Regions from separate parts of the Homo sapiens genome. Here all the other regions are linked to region 3. Evidence: promoter capture Hi-C in 16 types of primary human blood cells and fetal thymus (Javierre and others, 2016). All regions are on one chromosome and are shown on one strand. The core of a region is centred on a gene start or on the middle of the fragment in contact, and the rest is flanking DNA. Distances in the headings are between cores, read along the strand shown. Region 1 holds the start of SCGB1C1 (secretoglobin family 1C member 1). Region 2 holds the start of GATD1 (glutamine amidotransferase class 1 domain containing 1). Region 3 has its middle 9.2 kb from the start of RNH1.

Region 1 (2,874 bases), core at 157-2,656, 320 kb before region 3:
ACAGCTGGTCTATATCTGTTAGAATTGCTAAACTCTTTTAAAAATGACAAATTGCTGAAGGAAAAACAAGAACTCTTTTCATTGCCAGTGGAACACAGCGTATAAGACCAAAATACGCCACCCCAAAACCTAACCCTAACCCTAACCCCTAACCCCTAACCCTAACCCTAACCCTAACCCTAACCCCTAACCCCTAACCCTAACCCTAACCCTAACCCCTACCCCTAACCCCTAACCCTTACCGGTGACCCTACTGTATCCCTGACTCCTAACCAACGTTGATCCCTAACCCTAAACCCCTTACTGTAACTATAATCTTCATCCCACCCTATCCCTAGCCTTAGTGCCATCCCCCAGGCTTTTTCCAGGATGGGATTTTATGTGATTGTTTCGAATAGGTGGAAATCTCTGCTCATTTAGGAGTCGTTCAATGTAACAAGGATCTTGGTCTTCACAGAGACCCTAAACGCGTGTGGCCCAGGGCCATGTGGATGCCATCAGCCACTAGGTGGCAGCAGGGGCCCTTTGGATTTGAACAATGCAGCTCAGTCAGAGGGCTGGACTGGGACACCCCTACTCATGGTCTCTCTTGGCATGGTTTTGTTTGGTGACTCCAGGTGTCCCAACCTCCTGTGTCCATTGTAATATGTCCTGGGACCATCTCCCCCAGGGCCTTCAACCTGGGGGGTTGAACCCCAGGATAGCAACCCCAAGCCCTCCTTGCTATCCTGGCTACTGATGGAAGATGTACCTCAAGCCTGTCCCATTCCTCACTTCCTGCTGAGACCTGGCCCCAACATGGCCAGCTCTATGTTCCTCAGACCCTCTCAGGCCACCTTCTCTCTTCTAGGCACTGTCACTGGGCTTCTCCCCACCCCATAGATCCACAGCCCCCAGGTAGTCCTACAGCTGTGTCCACTCGTGCAGCCTGCACCCCCTTCCCCTACTCGGCCACCCCATCTGAGTAGTAAGGGGCCCCTGCCTGATTGGAGACCCCCAGATGCAGACCCAGATCACACAGCACACTGATAAGAGGAGGGATTCGCACCTTAAAAGAAAGGCGTGGGACCAACCCCAGATCCCACCACTCTCGGCCTCAAGGGCAGGCATGACTAGAGGCCCTTGGTGGCCAGGACCCACTGCCTTCTTCACCGATCAGTTGGCATGGCCTCTCACCAGTGTTCCCTCCTAACACACCTGTTCTCTCTCTCACACACCCTAAAGCCGCTTGCCAACCACCTGTCACACAGCCACTCCATGCCTGTTGCTGCTTGGCACCCACTGGGGGCCAGGGATGTGAACAAACCTCATCTAAGCTGGCTGCCGGGTCCTAATGGGCAGGTCCGGTCCGCCCTCTAGGAGAGGTGCTGTCCGGTGAGGCATAAAATCCCGGGATTCTGGCTGGAGGCAGCTCCTGAGACTGCTGGCATGAAGGGGAGCCGTGCCCTCCTGCTGGTGGCCCTCACCCTGTTCTGCATCTGCCGTGAGTCTGTGCCACTGGGGTTTCCAGAACATTCAGGGGTGGGGGGGAGTGGGGGGTACCTGAGAAGGTAAAATCCTGGCATCGGGCCTCTGCAGTGAACACTCCACCTGCTTCTGTCACAGAAGTGGGCAAGGACCCTGCAGAACCCGCGCCCACCCTACTCCACCCCAACCAAGGACAAAGCCCAGCTGACCCAACACCAGCCCAGTGTCTCCTACCCCAGCCCAGTCCAGCCTGACCTGACCCTTCAAGCCTCTGGTCATAATAGCCTCTCATCAGGGGAAATTTCCCCCACACCAGGAGCTTAACTTTCCTTCCCTGGTGATCCCAGGGAATGCTGAGTGGAAATTGGAGCAGCTAAGATTAAGGGGGATGTGGAGGGGTCTTCGGGCAAGGTGGAGTTGGAGGTGTTGTGGAGGAAGCCCTGGGGAGGAGAGGTGGGCATTGAAGGGGAAGGTCTGGAGACCATGGAGGTTGGAGCCCTGGGGCAGGTCCAGGGCTGTGGTTGCACCAGAGTCACCCTGTCCTGTCCTGGCATCATCTCGCTCGTGATGCAGGGATGGCCACAGGGGAGGACAACGATGAGTTTTTCATGGACTTCCTGCAAACACTACTGGTGGGGACCCCAGAGGAGCTCTATGAGGGGACCTTGGGCAAGTACAATGTCAACGAAGATGCCAAGGCAGCAATGACTGAACTCAAGTCCTGTATAGATGGCCTGCAGCCAATGCACAAGGCGGAGCTGGTCAAGCTGCTGGTATGAGGGCGGCGGGCACCCCATTTTCTAAAGATCTGCAGCCTTACCAAGACCACCCAACACAGCACCCACACAGCCTACCCCACCCACAGACATCCACCACCCACAGACATTGCACCCGCATCAGCCAGCTCAGGTGGACACCCCAGACCTCCTGTCCACCGAGCAGCCCCCAGACTCCATAGACCTCCTCCCCAGTCTGTGGGATACTCCTCCATGCACACATGTGAACATACACAGAGATCCAAACACAGGTGCAGACATGAAATGTACACTGCGTGCACACATGTATAAACACGTTCACACCCACATGCTCACACTGGGATATGCACACACATACATGTGTGCACACCATCACATGTGCACACACACCTCCCAGCTGCTGGGAGGAGATAGGCAGCAATATGCCAGACCCCCCCCCACTGAGGGCCTTGCTTGCCTGATGGAGCTGTGGCTCTCCACTTATTGAGCACAGCCCTCTTAGTCCACATGTGTCTGCCTTCCAGGTGCAAGTGCTGGGCAGTCAGGACGGTGCCTAAGTGGACCTCAGACATGGCTCAGCCATAGGACCTGCCACACAAGCAGCCGTGGACACAACGCCCACTACCACCTCCCACATGGAAATGTATCCTCA
Region 2 (2,813 bases), core at 144-2,643, 260 kb after region 3:
TGCCTCAGCCTCCCGAGTAGCTGGGACTACAGGAGGGTGCCACCACGCCCAGCTAATTTTTGTACTTTTAGTAGAGACGGAGTTTCACTGTTTTAGCCAGAATGGTCTCGATCTCTTGACCTCGTGATCCGCCCGCCTCAGCCTCCCAAAGTGCTGGGATTACAGGCGTGAGCCACTGCGCCCAGACTCTTCATTCTTATATAAGTTAATACATATTCACTGTAAAATGTCCACTTATCGAGGAAAAACAAAGTGCCCAGTAGACTGCCGCAGGCTCTGTTCCCCCAGCTGCCCGCCCTTCCGGCCTCCTGAAGTGCTGCCCCCAGCCTGCTGGCGCTAAGACCCCACGTCCTCAACATGCCGGACCTCCTCACGCCTACCTGCTCTGGAAACAAGCCCCAACCCACCCCCCCAGGACTGAACCCCACTCGAGGCTCCTCCCACCCGCAGTCTGGGGGCATCACTCAGGACCCCTGGAGCTCAGCACATCGTGACGCCACAACCCCACAGCCCCATCTCCCCGTCCACACTTGAGGAGCTACAGACTTCAAGAGGCAGACCCCTGGGTCGCAACCCCGGCCCCCACCTCTCCGTGGTGCGGTGACCTTGGGCTGCTCACTTCCCTCTCCAAAAGGCTCAGAACAAGGCCAGGCACCCTCGTGCTCCGCTGCTCATCCCTCCCCTGCTGCCCTGAGACCCTGCAGGCTCAGCGCCAGGGGACGCACCCCGCTGCGCTCCGACCCGCGTGAGCCCCAGGCCAGTACTGCCCTGGTACCCTTGCCCCAGGACGGGGGCCGCGGGGCGCCTTCTCCAGGAGGGGGCTCCGGGTCTCCTCAGAAGCCGGTGGCTCAGAAGGTCAGGGTCCCCGCGGCCGCCCGACCTCAGAGCTGGGTCAACTCCCGGAATGGCCCCTCCCCACACCCGGGCTCCCCTCTCGCAGCGCAGCGGCCTCAGAGACCAGGCCCAGGCACGCGGCTCCCTCCGCTAGAAACGTCGGGCCCGGGCCGCCTCGCCGGGCAGACGAGACTCGGAGGAGCGACGCGGCGCCGGGATCCATCACGACCCCCCGACCCCGCCCCGAGCTCCATCCCACCAACCCGCGACCCCACCCCCGCCCCCGTCCCCGCCCCGAGCTCCATCCCGACACCGACCCCGCTCCGCCCTCCCCCGGCCCCTGCCCGGCGCCCCCAGCGGCCTCGGCCTCCGGCGCCACGTGACGCGCGCCCACCGTGTCCCGAACCTCCCGCCCCGGGCAGCCCCCTCGCGGACGCTCTTCGGACACTGGCCCCGGCCGCCGGGCCTCACCTTCGGCGGCGCCGCTGGCCACGAGCAGACAGGCGGGCCTGTTAGGGAGCCGCTCGGACGCCATGGCTCGGGCTCGGCGCTGGGTCTGCGCGTGCGCGGCGTCTGGGCGCGCCCGGGAGTTCGCGGGTCACGTGCCCTGGCGGCCGGGGGCGGAGCCGGGTGGGACTGGGCGCCTGCGCGTTCGTACCCGGTCCGGGTCGGCTGGGCTGCCCGCCGCTCCGCGCGCCCGGGCGGTCGCAGGTCGCGCCTGCTTTGGCCCCGGCGGGTTCGGCATCCGAGCCTGGCAGGGGCCAATAGGTAGGGTCGCGAGGGTCCTCCCCGGCCGCATGCGCAGTCTGAGCGCGCGCGGGGTAGGGCTCTTGGCCTGGGGTGGGGGCGCGGGCATCAGCAGAGCCAGGCGGCGGTGTCGGGGCGCGAAGGTGCCCGTGGTGTTCCGGTGGCCACACCCGAGGAGCAGGGGAGACCGGGGGGCTGCGGGGTCAGAAGCTCCGGGTGTCCCCGGAGACTAGGAGGGGGACGGCGGGGTCCAGGAGGCGGGGTGGGCTCCGCCGGCCCAGGACGGGGGCGTCGCGGGGAGGCCTGCAGGGTTGTGGGGCGTCGGGCTGAGCTCCTGGGAGGACGGAGTGTCACTTCCTGAGATGGGGACACCTCGGGCGTGCTGGCTTTGGTGAGGAGAATTGAAGCAGTTTTTCTTTTTTTTTTTTTTTTTTTGAGACAGGGCCTCTGGAGTGCAGTGGCGTGATCTCGGCTCACTACAGCGTCTGCCTACCGTGTTCAAGCGATCCTCCCACCTCAGCCTGTTGAGCAACCGGGACCCCAGGTGCACACTCCACCACGCCCAGCTAATTTTTTTGTGTTTTGGGTAGAGAGGGGGTCTCACTGTGTTGTCCAAGCTGGTCTCGAACTCCTGATCTAAAGCGATCTGCCTGCCTTGGCCTCCCAAAGTGCGAGGACTACAGGCGTGAGCCACCGCGCCTGGCCTGAAGCAGTTTTTCCTTAGACTGTAGTTGGAGGGGGTGAGACCACGTGGAGTGGTTGGCAGACAGGCAGGCACCCTTTGAGGCCAAAAGGGCGCTTGAGACAGAGCCAGCAGGCGAGCGGGCCGCCCAGGTCCCTGGCCCCCTGCTGCCAGTATGAAGGTCCCACCAAGCCTCTGCTCCAACCAGGGGAACCGTCATGGTTGGGAACAGCCAAGGTGAGGAATTCTGTGGGTCACACCCCCTGAAAACCACTGGCCTCCGCCGGGCGCGGTGGCTCACGCTTGTTATCCCAACACTTTGGGAGGCCCAGGCGGGTGGATCACGAGGTCAGGAGTTCAAGACCAGCCTGGCCAAGATGGTGAAACCCCGTCTCTACTAAGAAAAATACAAAAATTAGCAGTGGCAGCACCTGTCATCCAAGCTACTTGGGAGGCTGAGGCGGGAGAATCACGTGAACCCAGCGGGGGCAGAGGTTGCAATGAACCAAGATTGCGCCACTGCACTCCAGCCTGGGCGACAGATTGAGAC
Region 3 (2,743 bases), core at 30-2,529:
TTTCCTCCTCCTGAAGTTGGGGTCATGTCCCAAGAAGACCCACAAGGCCTGGCCTGTGGGTGCACATGTGGGGAGGGTCAGGTCTGTCGGCTGAGGAGGGCATTGGTAGGGGACTTTGAGCAGTGCTGCTCCGGAGACACGAATGATGGGATGGGAGGCTCTCCCATATCTGCCGAGAGCACAGCACCCCATGACTCCTGGGAGCTTGTCATAGATGCTGCAGATGAGTCCTTCCTCAGACGGGATATTTGCTAATGCCTCTGCCAGCCTGGGCTTGTCTTCTCAGGGCCTTTCAAAATGCACACACCCTTCATTCTCATGATGTCCAGTGGATCAGGTTTTCCTTTATGTGTCATGCTTTTAGTGTTTAAGAATCATTTCTCTAACCCAAGTCACACTGACATCCTCCTTTTCATTCTTAACGCACATTTTACAGTTGTAGGCCTTACATTTTGGCTTATAATAAGTTCTGAGGCCAGGCACAGTGCTCACACCTGTAATCCTGGCACTTTGAGAGGCCAAGGCGGGTGGATCACCAGAGGTCAGGAGTTTGACACAAGCCTGGCCAACATGGTGAAACCCCGTCTCTACTAAAAATACAAAAAGTAGCCAGGTGTGGTGGCGGGCACCTGTAATCCCAGCTACTCCAGAGGCTGAGGCAGGAGAATCACTTGAACCTGGGAGACAGAGGTTGCAGTGAGTCAAGATTGTGCCACTGCCCTCCAACCTGGGCGAGAGAGTGAGACTCCATCTCAAAAAAATTAATAGTAAATTTTGAATGGATTTATATATGTACTGTCATGTATAGATTGAAGCTTCCATTCATATGTGTAGCCCCGTCATTCTAGTACCATTTGTTGCTAAGATTCTCCTTTCTCTGCTGAATTTGCTTACACTTATTTCAAAATCAGTTGAGCATGTATGTGAGGGTCTACTCTCGATCCTCTATTCTGTTCCACTGATCTATTTGTCTATCCTGTTACCAATGCCACACTGTCTGGATTTCTGAACCTTTATAACACATCTTGGGCCAGGTGCAAAGGTTCACGCCTGTAATCCTAGCACTTTGGGAGGCCGAGGTGGGTGGATCACTTGAGGCCAGGAGTTCAAGACCAGCCTGGCCAACATGGCGAAACCCGTCTCTACCAAAAATACAAAAACTAGCCAGGCATGGTGGTACACGCCTGTAATCCCAGCTACTCGGGAGGCTGAGGTACAAGAATCACTTGAGCCCCAGAGGCGGAGGCTGCAGTGAGCTGAGATCGTACCACTGCACTCCAGCCTGAGTGACAGAGCGAGCCTCCATCTCAAAAAAAAAAAAACCCAAATCTTGAAGCCAGGCATAGAATGCCCTCTCACTTGACCATTGTTTTCCAGAGCTGTTTTGATGATTGTAGGCCCACAGCATTGCCACACACTGAAACACAGGCCCATGAGCACACATATATGTATAATACAAATATAAGTGCACACCATGACGCAGTGAAATTTATCACAGGAATGCAAGGCTGGTTCAACATGAAATATGAGCCAATGGAATTCACCATATAAGCAGATTAAAAGACAAAAAGACGGCCGGACGTGGTGGCTCACATCTGTGATCCCAGCACTTTGGGAGGCTGAAGCAGGAGGATTCTGAGCAACATAGTGAGACCTGGTCTCTAAATAAATAAAATAAGACAAAAATACATCATCATTTCAGTAGACTTAGAAAAGGCATTTGACAGAATCCAGCAGGCTTATAAAGCTTTTTAATTATTTTTTTCTCCCTCTCCCTCTCCCTCTCCCTTCGGTCTCCCTCTGTTGCCGAGGCTGGACTGTACTGCTGTGGTCTCGGCTTGCTGCAGCCTCCCTGCCCCGGGCTCCCATGGTTCTCCTGCCTCGGCCTGCCAAGTGCCTGGGATTGCAGGCATGCACCGCCACGCCTGACTGGTTTTTGTATTTTTGGAGGAGACGGGGTTTTGCCCTGTTGACCGGGCTGGTCTCCGGCTCCTGACCTCCAATGGTCTGCCCGCCTCGGCCTCCCGGGGTGCTGGGATTGCAGACGGAGTCTTGCTCACTCAATGCTCAGTGTTGCCAAGGCTGGAGCGCAGTGGCGTGATCTCAGCTCGCCACAACCTCTACCTTCCAGCTGCCTGCCTTGGCCTCCCAAAGTGCTAAGATTACAGCCTCTGCCCGGCCGCCACCCCGTCTGGGAGGTGAGGAGCATCTCTGCCCGGCCGCCCATCGTCTGGGAGGTGAGGAGCGCCTCTGCCCGGCCGCCCGGTCTGGGAAGTGGGCGCCTCTGCCCAGCTGCCCCGTCTGGGAGGTGGGGGGCGCCTCTGCCTGGCTGCCCCGTCTGGGAGTTGAGGGGTGCCTCTGCCCGACCGCCCCACCTGGGAAGTGAGGGGCACCTCTGCCCAGCCACCGCCTTATCTGGAAGGTGGGGAGCGCCTCTGCCCGACTGCCCCGTCTGGGAAGTGGGCGCCTCTGCCCGGCCGTCCCATCTGGGGGGTGAGGAGCACCTCTGCCCGGCCACCCCGTCTGGGAGGTGAGGAGTGCCTCTGCCAGGCCGCCCCGTCTGGGAAGTGTACCCAACAGCTCCAAAGAGACAGCGACCATCGAGAACGGGCCATGATGACAGTGGCAGTTTTGTCAAAAAGAAAAGGGGGAAATGTGGGGAAAAGAAAGAGAGGTCAGATTGTTACTGTGTCTGTGTAGAAAGAAGTAGACATAGGAGACTCCGTTTTGTTCTGTACTAAGA

What was found. The method cuts DNA at HindIII sites, captures the fragments that hold promoters and counts their contacts. A CHiCAGO score of 5 or more calls a contact.
Region 1: the fragment with the promoter of SCGB1C1 here is called in contact with a fragment that was not itself captured in region 3 in 9 of 17 cell types (naive CD8 T cells, total B cells, total CD4 T cells and 6 more); the score reaches 8.6 in naive CD8 T cells.
Region 2: a contact is called between the fragment with the promoter of GATD1 here and a fragment that was not itself captured in region 3, in 2 of 17 cell types (activated CD4 T cells and non-activated CD4 T cells). The highest score is 5.3, in activated CD4 T cells.

What each region holds. Positions count from the first base shown.
Region 1 is chr11:191,672-194,545 of GRCh38, forward strand. It overlaps SCGB1C1 (secretoglobin family 1C member 1), which reads left to right and starts at 1,407. Exons shown (of 3, transcript NM_145651.3): 1 at 1,407-1,483; 2 at 2,041-2,240; 3 at 2,747-2,874. The coding sequence starts at 1,429. The coding sequence ends at 2,779. The HindIII fragment of the contact is 15,974 bases long and covers 1-2,874 here.
Region 2 is chr11:776,094-778,906 of GRCh38, forward strand. It overlaps GATD1 (glutamine amidotransferase class 1 domain containing 1), which reads right to left and starts at 1,394. Exons shown (of 8, transcript NM_182612.4): 1 at 1,306-1,394. The coding sequence starts at 1,369. It overlaps LOC124900301, which reads left to right and starts at 1,485. Exons shown (of 2, transcript XM_047427954.1): 1 at 1,485-1,602; 2 at 2,024-2,813. GATD1-DT (GATD1 divergent transcript) reads left to right here and starts at 1,485. Exons shown (of 2, transcript NR_126343.1): 1 at 1,485-1,602. RefSeq lists silencers at 815-1,024, 1,035-1,744, 1,795-1,894. The HindIII fragment of the contact is 13,028 bases long and covers 1-2,813 here.
Region 3 is chr11:515,084-517,826 of GRCh38, forward strand. It overlaps a transcript of LRRC56 not described here. Among named protein-coding and RNA genes, the nearest start is that of RNH1, 9.2 kb to the left of the region's middle. The HindIII fragment of the contact is 932 bases long and covers 814-1,745 here.